Linked DNA regions of Homo sapiens: all the other regions are linked to region 3. The links are contacts of gene promoters, found by promoter capture Hi-C in blood cells and fetal thymus (Javierre and others, 2016). All regions are on one chromosome and are shown on one strand. The core of a region is centred on a gene start or on the middle of the fragment in contact, and the rest is flanking DNA. Distances in the headings are between cores, read along the strand shown.

Region 1 (2,952 bases), core at 276-2,775, 1.5 Mb after region 3:
CCACTTCCGAAAGCGCGCGGGCCGGAGCGAGACGGGCGCCTCGAGCGTGCCAAGACGCTCTGGGCGGCCCAGGGAGCCGCGGCGCACCCCGCTTGACACTTTGGCTGGTGGATGGAGGTGGGGAGGAACTCGGCAGCCCACGGGATCCGCGGGCAGGGGCGGAGGTTAGACCGTGGTGAGGGCCGACGGGCGCGGGTTAGTCGCGGCCAATCCTGCCGGGCGGCCCGGCCTTCCGCCCTCATCAGGACTCCGTAGCCGGGCCGGGGGCGGGAGGGGAGGGGGATTTGGTTGGAGGGAGGACTGGCTCTAGGTCCTCTCAGGTGAGAAGGAGAGAAACCGTGGCAAGTCAGGGAACTTTCTGATGGGAAAGCTAAAGTTTGGAGGTGTTCAGGAAGTCGCCCGTGCTGCCGGAGAAACCGAGACTCGCTCTTGGGACGGTTGCAAACAGCTCCGGAGAAACTCAGCCCGCAGCACGCCGCCCGCCGCCCGCCGCCCGCTTGTGCGCCCGCAGGTTCCTCGCCGTGGATAATCTGCCCGAGCTGCTTCGCAGGCCCGGCCGCCAGGCTTGGGGATTTAGAGCCCCATCTGTTTGCGGCGGACGCGGCTTCCCTAATGCGCAGCAATTGTGCAGACCCAGACTGTCCTGCGGGTCCTAGCCACCGGTGCGGGTGCCAAGCGCCTGTTAAACGTTTGCTAGTTTGGGGTTGTGTTGCAATCTGGAATGAAGGACACCAGTTCGGTATCTGCGCTGGGTTTACTTTCGGATCACCGAGCTTTGCCTTTCTTCACTAGAGATTGGGTGGCATCTCTTTTATTAATTATTAACAGGCCGAAACGTACTGGACGTTAAGATGAGCTGCTTGAGATGAAATCTTTCTATATAATGTGCCCACAGCAAATTTTCTCTTTTCCCCTGTGGCTTGAGGGGAATGGGATTTAATCATTTTTAGAATATGTAATTCATATAAGTAAAAGAGAGGAAACCTCCCGTGATCCGCGCTCTTAAGCACTTAAAATTATTTGGGAGGAAAAATTATTAAGATTTCTTATCGACTTCTTATGTTAAAAAATCTATTCTCCCCCACCCCCCCAAAAAACTTTTATGCTAGTCCTGCATTTCATTAGCCCTGTAAGTGTGAAACGTCTTAAATGCCCTCTGCAGTTAAAGCATTTTTTGTCTTTAAATTATAAAATTGATTTTGCTATTTGGAAGATGTCAATGCCAGTCTTTATCCACTTTGTCTAATATACTTTGTGTTGATTGGAGGAAAGGCGAGAGGCTGAGACATTTTAAACTGCTTTCTCCCCTAATGAACAGTAACGACCCACCAAAAAAAAGGAAAGTACGTTTTAATATTTTGATTTAAAGTTGATGTTTCCTAGTACATAGGCTTTTGCTTTTGTAATTCTACAAAGTGAAGTTCCATACTGTCCCTTGCTAATAGAATAATAAGAATCACACACGCTACCCCCACACTTGGAGTGACCTCTGTCTGCCATAAAATAATAGTTTCATAGTATTGTGCTTTGAAAAAAGTGCCTCAGAAGTACTGGCAATGCAATTTTTCTATAAACTCAGCTGCCTGAAAGAGAGAGAGAGAGAGAGAGAGAGATAGAGGAAGAGGGAGAGAGAATGCATCTGAACAATTAGAATATTTCACTCCCAATATCATAATATCCTGAATTTTAATGGGATTATCTTGCTTTGGTGCAAACTTAAGCTGAAAGAGAAAATAGTTTGTGGGGAAGTGAGGAATGCTGTAAATGTTTCCATATCAGATTTAGAGGAAAAAACTGGCTTAGAATCTTATTAAATACTTCCCTATTGCTTCTCAGTTTTAATAGTTAAATTGGTTCCATGTGTAAGACAGTTTGTATAACTAGATTTTTCGTGCAAAACAGAAATACTGTTTACAATATAGCTTTTTGGTATGTGGATGCATGTGGACAAGGGAGGAGAGAACAAGCCACCATAAAAGAAAGATTCTCTTTGTTGGCTGATTTACTGATGTTTTTTAAACATCAGTAAATCAGGCCCTTTGAACTCACCAAAGAAGAAAATCCTTCCTCTGCATTAGTTGTCAAATAAGTTTAGGCTTAGTTTCATGCTCAAATGTAATAAATCTTCATTTGAGTAACTCTAGTCTCATCCTTCAATTTTGCTTTTGTTTAATTAACAACAAAATTCCAATACCATTTGGATTGCTTCTTGGGCAAAGGGAGAGAGCCAGCTATAACATTTATAATCGGGGGAGCACTTGTTCTGCTCATCATAAAAGTGCATTGGCCAGATGTCACGCGGCAGCGGAGTACTGAAAGGAAATGTAAGACGTTCATCAGTTTCAGTAGATGATATACCCCTTTGCTTCATATGAGTGCTCAGCCTGTGTTTGTGCAAATGGAGTTATAAGAGCACAGGGAGGCTTAAAGGGAATTTCTGGCCCGTAGATTCTTCGTCCGGCCTGATTCATGTGCAAATGCAAGACTCCTCACCACTTTGAAAATACTGTATGTGTTGGTAGTATGTCCAACTGTAATAAATACGATTCTGTAGTTTTGAAGAACTTGGCCTTTCTTTCTACGAAATGAAATTAGAATTCGATCTCTGATCTCACTGTAAGGACCCATTGCCTGGTATCCCTTCACTGGGATTTTTGTACCATTTTTGTTACTTGTGATGGGAAGGATTGGGAGAAGGTGATGGCTGGATCTTGAAAAGAGAAAACCCAAATGGTTGCCACTACTGAGCAGAATGCTTATCTGGCAAGAAGGGATCAGTTCTTTTAAAGACAAAGAGGATTTCTGAATCCATTTGTCCATGGGAGGAGGGAGAAGCCTGGACCCTCCATGAAGTAGAGAGTATTTTAAAAGCACCATTTTCATGGGCAGCCTCTTGATTTTATATATTTCAATCACGTTACTTGAGATACAAAGCAGCAGCATGCACAAGTA
Region 2 (2,997 bases), core at 484-2,983, 1.6 Mb after region 3:
ACACAGATACACAAACATATACACACACAGATTCCCCATAATGCAGAGAATAAAGTCCAAAATCTCTAGCATGGCAATGAAGACCATCTCTAGTCCGCTTCACCATTTCCAGTCCAACAACCTTCATTTCCCCAACACAGCGATGCAACAGCTTTTCCTCTTCCCCAGAATATGTGGAGCTGTTCACACTTCTGTGATTTTTTTTCCCACAGTTAAAACCCACAACCCCTTTTCTACCCAGTGAACTCCTACACATCCTTCAAGACCCAAAATAAATTAAACTCCTCTGAAGTAATCTCTAAATTATCTCCATCAGAATGAATTTCTTACTCATTTGTGGTCCCATGGAATCTTCTATATATATATGTATACCATTTCCTTTTTTTTTTTTTTTTGAGACTGATTTCACTCTTGTTGCCCAGGCTGGAGTGCAATGGCGCAATCTCGGCTCAGTGCAACCAATGCCTCCCGGGTTCAAGCGATTCTCCTGCCTCAGCCTCCCAAGTAGCTGGGATTACAGGCATGCACCACCACGTCAGACTAATTTTGTATTTTTAGTAGACACGGGGTTTCTCCATGTTGGTCAGGCTGGTCTCGAACTCCCAACCTCAGGTGATCCACCCACCTCAGCCTCCCAAAGTGCTGGGATTACAGGCGTGAGGCACCGCGGCCGGCCCACCATTTCTTCTTTGCATTATAGGTCTTTGTACAGTGCCATCTCCACTGTGTTTTGTTCATCTTTGATTTTTCTTTCAGAAAAATTATATACTAATAGCTAGTATTTGTTGAACATTTACTCTTTGCAATGCACTTTATATATATATTACTTCTAGTCCTCACAACAATTCTGTAGGTGAGGTATCACTGCCTCCATTATCCAGATGAAGAAACTGAGACTCAAGAGGACACACGACATGCCTAGGATCACAGTGCCAGTAGACAGAAAAACTGAGATGCCAACCTGAGACAGATAACTACTGGAATCCAGAAGTCCATGTTCTTGCCACTAAGCTTCTTGTGGTTCACAAAACAGAAAAGAAAGGATGCATATATTTATTGTATTTTATGTTACTCCGCTGGGGCTGCTATGACAATTCCATAGCCTGGGAGGCTTAAACAAGAGACATTTATTTTCTTACAGTTCTGGAGGCTTGGAAGTCCAGATCCAGCTGCCAGCCAATTTGGTTCCTGGTGAGAACTCTGTTTCTAGCTTGCAGATGGCTACCTTTTTGCTGTGTCTTCACTTGGGGGAGAGAATGAGCTGTGGTTTCTCTTCTTCTGACAAGGGCATGAACTCCATCATTGGGGCTGCACCCTTGTGTCTTAATCTAAACCTACTTACCTCCTAAAGATACCACCTCCAAATACCATTAGGATTCCTTGTAGTAAACAAAAATTATAGGAGGCCATTAGGCTCCTATAATATGACATATGAATTACATATTCATATAAGATATGAATTTTGGGAAGATGCACAATGCACACGTTGGCAAGAATTATGAGACCTGAGTTTTAGTATCAGTTTTATCATTGATCATGTGATGTTGGAAAAGTCACTTGACAATCTTGAAACGAGCCCATTTCCTTGTAAGGAAAACAAGAGGGTTGGACTAGATAATCTCCAAATCGTGTTCTGATTCTAAAAATTCTGATTCTGTGTGCTATCTTGCAACCATTGAAACTCAGATATACCAGTTCAGAGCATACTGTTTGGTGATGATCTGAAATCTCAACACAGAGCTGTATGGTAATGCTACCATATCACACTACCATGGGCAGGTACCTCCCAGCAGCATGAGCTCTTAAACAATTAGAGCAGTTCCTTCAGGCCAGGTCAGGTGTCCCCAACTCTTCCTGACTGCATGCTTTGTGAGACAGTACCCAACACATGAACTTTTACGCTGCCTTTGTCCTACACAAGCCATCCACATCACTTACCTAATAAGAAATACTATCTGCAGCCAGGCATGGTGGCTCACGCCTGTAATCCCAGCATTTTGGGAGGCCGAGGTGGGCGGATCACGAGATCAGGAGTTCAAGACCAGCCTAACCAACATGGTGAAACCCTGTCTCTACTAAAAATACAAAAATTAGCCGGGCGTGGTGGTATGCACCTGTTATCCCAGCTACTCAGGAGGCTGAGGCAGGAGAATCGCTTGAACCCGAGAGGCAGAGGTTGCAGTGAGCCAAGATCGCCCCACTATACTCCAGCCTGGGCGACAGAGGGAGACTCCATCTCAAAAAAAAAAAAAAAAAGAAAAGAAAAGAAAAAAGAAAAAGAAAAAAAGAAATGCTATCTGCACAGTGCCAGGCATTGTAGTGGTTGATTTTTTTAAGCATTCACAAACACTGTCTCCTAACTGGCCTCCTCCCTTCAATGAATTCCGTAGGTTGCCAGGTGAACTTTCCTGAAGCACAGCCAGCCAGTTCTGATTGTGTCATTATGTAAGCTTTTTTGTTTGTTTGTTTCCTAGCATTTTATTTCTTATGCAATAAAGTCAAACTTCCTTAGTCTGGCTTATAAAATCTTACGTGTTCTAGCTTCAACCAGTTTTTCCAACCCCTTTTCCTCTACTACTCTTCAGAGACCTTGCATTCCAGGCAAAATAAACTACCTATGGTTTCCTGTAGCATATTTTTTACATTAACATAATTTCTAACAATATTCTAAATCAGTCTAAAATGTCAGCCAGGGGTAGTGGCTCACACCTGTAATCCCAGCACTTAGGGAGGCCAAGGTGGGCAGATCACTTGAGGTCAAGAGTTAAAGATCACCCTGGCAAACCCCATCTCTACTAAAAAAAAAATACAAAAATTAGCCAAGTGTGGTGGCATGCACTTGTAGTCCCAGCTACTAGGGAGACTGACGCAGGAGAATCGCTTGAACCCAGGTGGCAGAAGTTGCAGTGAGCTGAGATCACACCACTGCACTCCAGTCTGGGAGACTCTGTCTTAAAATAAAATGTAGAACATGCTTCCCTAATAGCACACACTAGA
Region 3 (3,352 bases), core at 814-3,313:
AACTGAAACATAATAAAATTGAATGATGCATATGAAAGCACATTTACACATTATTCTTTCAAAATTACCAAGTTATACCATAGAACTGTAAGGAATTACTTTATTAGACAAAGCATTAGTGTTACTCACTTCTCCCAAGAGATTGTGCCTATTGCTCCACCTGCTTGACCAAGCTATGTTGCCTGTGCCATCTTTCCTATCATCTTATACTGTTATTCATACATCCTTGGATTGGCTTCTTTCTTAACTTTTTATGGTACATGCCTTATCTCAACCAGAACATATATTGCTTCTTTACATTCCTCTTGGAGCATAGTCAGTGTGAATGTAAAAAGGAAGCGGGATTGTTAGAGTGTATGACTAGAAAGAACGTGGAGAAAGTTTGAAGAGAGTGTTCTAAACACTGGGAAGTTATTGGATGTTTTTGAGCAGGTGACTAACCTAAGCTCACCTGTGCTTTGGGAAAACACATCCGGTGTTCATGAGAATAGACTGGAGGAAGGAATAACTGGAGGCTAGGAAGTGAATTTCAAGGAGATGGATGGCATGGTCCAGAAGAAAAACATGGAGAATTTAGGAAAGATGGCAAAAGCAAAATAGACAGGTTAGGCTGTTATTTGGTTGTGGATGGTGAAGAAATCCAAAGTACTTACTAGTATTTTGTCTTTGTGACCAGCTAGGAAAAACAGACGGTTAAGGATTTATCTTCTTAAAGAGGAATGGAGTGTGCAAAAGTGGGAGAGGAATGTGATCTTGATAGTACTAGTTAGTACTGACTGGGTCTTTCTTTGTACTTTTAATTTTATTTAATACACAACACCAATTGTAGCCATTTTGATTTTCTTTCTTCTCCAGCGGACTTTGAATTTAAGATTTTTCTTTGTGATCCTGTGCAAGCCTAGGTTGTTTAAGAAAAATACACGAATAGTTTCTCAGACACTTCCTCGTAGCAAAGCACTTATTAATGCTTGTGACTACAAATAATCAGCATTTCTTAGGTTTCTTCCTGTGTACTGTATCTCAACAACTTTTTGAAATATATTTTAGGAAAAAATTTCTAGTTCTCTAAAGAGGTGAATCTCAATGGGTGGTTAAATTTCACAAGGGTTGAAAGATCTTGTGGTATAAAAGCTCTGCTTTTAAGGTCGTGCTACATCAAAGACAGTTCAACGATAGCATGGAAGAAAGTGATATATAAATAACAAGTAACTCATACTTAAAAAGGCACTACTACGTTTTGTTTTTTATATCTGTAATGAGATAGGTAACTGGTTAGTGGCTAGTGAATTAAAAGCGAATCTTAGAGAAAGGGGAAAAGAACGCGTTTCCCACAAAACGCGTATATTCAGTTCTCATTCTATGATATCTGCCATTTGATGTGGTTCTGTTCCCCTCCTCCCACTTTCAAATTATTTGTCGCGCGCCAGTGGTCCCAGCTACTCGGGAGGCTGACACAGGAGGATCTCTTGAGTCCAGGATGTCAAGTCTGTAGTGAGCTATGATCCCGACACTGCATTCTACCCTTGGCAACAGAGCGAGACCCTGTCTCAAAACAAAACAAAACAGAAACAAAATAAAAAAACAATGTTTTCAAGAAGCAGAGACCAAGCCCCAGGCGGAGTCGAACTCTAGCAGGACAAGAACGCGGTCGGTCCCTTTCCCCCACCTGATCCACAGGTGCAGGGGTGGTTGCCTAGGTGACGCTCAGCGCATACTCCAGGCCAGGCGGCTCCGGACACCGCGATGCGGCCGGAGTTCAACAGCAGGTGACGGCGGGAAAGCAGAGCGGCCACATAGATGTCCCTGTACTCGGTAACTCTTGCCCTCCCTTGTTCTTCTCGAAGGTCCTTTTTTTTCTCGTGCACGGCTGACGAGACAGGCGCAAGCTAACTTCCCCCGCACTCCTCCGTCGGCCTCTAGAGGGCCAGGGCTGCGGCGCCTACAAAGCCTCGGGATCACAGCTGGGCCTCCTTAGCTACCGGCCGGGCGACAGCGCGCCTGCGCACCGGCGGGGTCACGCGCGCGGCGCGGGGGTGGGCCTGCGCCGGAGGGGCTGTCATTTGCAGCGCTGGTCGCAGCCCTCAGCTGCGCCGGGCGGTTCCGGCTCCTCCCTCTCCTTGTGCCTCAGCGCCACCATGGTGCTGGAGTCGGTGGTCGCGGACTTGCTGAACCGCTTCCTGGGGGACTATGTGGAGAACCTGAACAAGTCCCAGCTGAAGCTGGGCATCTGGGGCGGTAAGCGAGAGGGCGCGGCCAGTGGGCTGCGGGCGCTGAGGGCCCAGCCGAGGGCTGCTCCGTCCGGGATTCTGCCCGGGCCCTGCTCCCTGCGCCGCCTGAGACTCCCCATCCCGGTGCGGCAGGTGCTAGATGCGGGAGCCTCTGCCGCCCGCGGATTCTCGGGGTCCCAGTCCCGACTCCGGCTGGGGAGATGCGGCGGGATCCCGCCCGCGCTGCCAAAGTTCCCACCTTTCTCGTCCCCCGAGGCCAAGCCCTGGCCCTGCTGTCCCCGCCCTGCCCGTTTCTGTGGTCCTCTCGCTGCACTCAGGGTGGCCCCTTTGGCCCTACAGCATAAAAACAGAGCCCTTTCTGTTTCGGTATCGCGTGGAGTGAGCATGGTTGTCTGGTCATATACGCTCGAAGTGGCACTAAGAAAAAAGGAGGAAGTTGCATCTCGCAGTTATCTTCACTATCATTTTACAGGGAGCAAGAACTGGGTTCCTTCTCTTTAGGATTACCGGGTTTGGAGAGGAACGGGCAGGAGATCTTTAAGATAGGCGTGTGCTTAGGGATTCTTACTCTTAATGCTTTCAGCTCCTGTGAAAATGATTTCTTCCTTTAATATTTACTTTTCCGTCAATACGAAGAGGATTTTGAATTTTGTTTTGGAGCAATAGAGAGAAATTCAAGCCTCGACCAGCATCGTCATTAATTAGGTGTCTGCTTGGTTGCATGCTCAGGAATTTATGCCAACGTTTTTATCCTGGAGATTAAGTGTATAAAAGTATTCAGGAAATAGTGTACTTAAACATACACTCTTCAACGAGCTTAATCGTTTGCATGAATTACGTGTTAAGCTTTGAGGACTTTGGGACTTTCTCACTCCACAAAAGGTTTGGGAACTTTGTCAGCTTTGGAGGAAAATTCAAAAAACGACTCAAATGTATGGATCTGCTTTTAATTCAAGCAACAACAAATAGCTATAGACTTCCCCTGTCCACTAGGGTAACCACTAGCCACTGTAGCTGTGGAGCACTTGATATGAGGTTAGTGCTAATTGAGACTTGCTGTATGAATTAAAACATCGTTTTGAATAAGCATTACTCCTAATGAAGTAGGAGAAAAAAATAATACC

What was found. Contacts are between HindIII fragments. The CHiCAGO score rates a contact against its expected background, and 5 or more counts as called.
Region 1: a contact is called between a fragment that was not itself captured here and the fragment with the promoter of VPS13C in region 3, in 1 of 17 cell types (fetal thymus). The highest score is 5.5, in fetal thymus.
Region 2: a contact is called between a fragment that was not itself captured here and the fragment with the promoter of VPS13C in region 3, in 1 of 17 cell types (fetal thymus). The highest score is 9.3, in fetal thymus.

Annotation. Positions count from the first base shown.
Region 1 is chr15:60,588,837-60,591,788 of GRCh38, reverse strand. The region is part of intron 2 of RORA (RAR related orphan receptor A); the gene reads left to right. The region is part of intron 3 of RORA-AS1 (RORA antisense RNA 1); the gene reads right to left. Among named protein-coding and RNA genes, the nearest start is that of RORA-AS2, 91 kb to the left of the region's middle. RefSeq lists a silencer at 1-115. The HindIII fragment of the contact is 6,493 bases long and covers 1-2,952 here.
Region 2 is chr15:60,480,489-60,483,485 of GRCh38, reverse strand. The region is part of intron 1 of RORA-AS1 (RORA antisense RNA 1); the gene reads right to left. Among named protein-coding and RNA genes, the nearest start is that of RORA-AS1, 2.8 kb to the right of the region's middle. The HindIII fragment of the contact is 1,439 bases long and covers 1,014-2,452 here.
Region 3 is chr15:62,059,158-62,062,509 of GRCh38, reverse strand. It overlaps VPS13C (vacuolar protein sorting 13 homolog C), which reads left to right and starts at 2,063. Exons shown (of 85, transcript NM_020821.3): 1 at 2,063-2,235. The coding sequence starts at 2,136. It overlaps VPS13C-DT (VPS13C divergent transcript), which reads right to left and starts at 2,007. Exons shown (of 2, transcript NR_135690.1): 1 at 1,667-2,007; 2 at 76-1,542. RefSeq lists an enhancer at 1,752-1,801 and a silencer at 1,852-2,201. The HindIII fragment of the contact is 3,439 bases long and covers 1-3,076 here.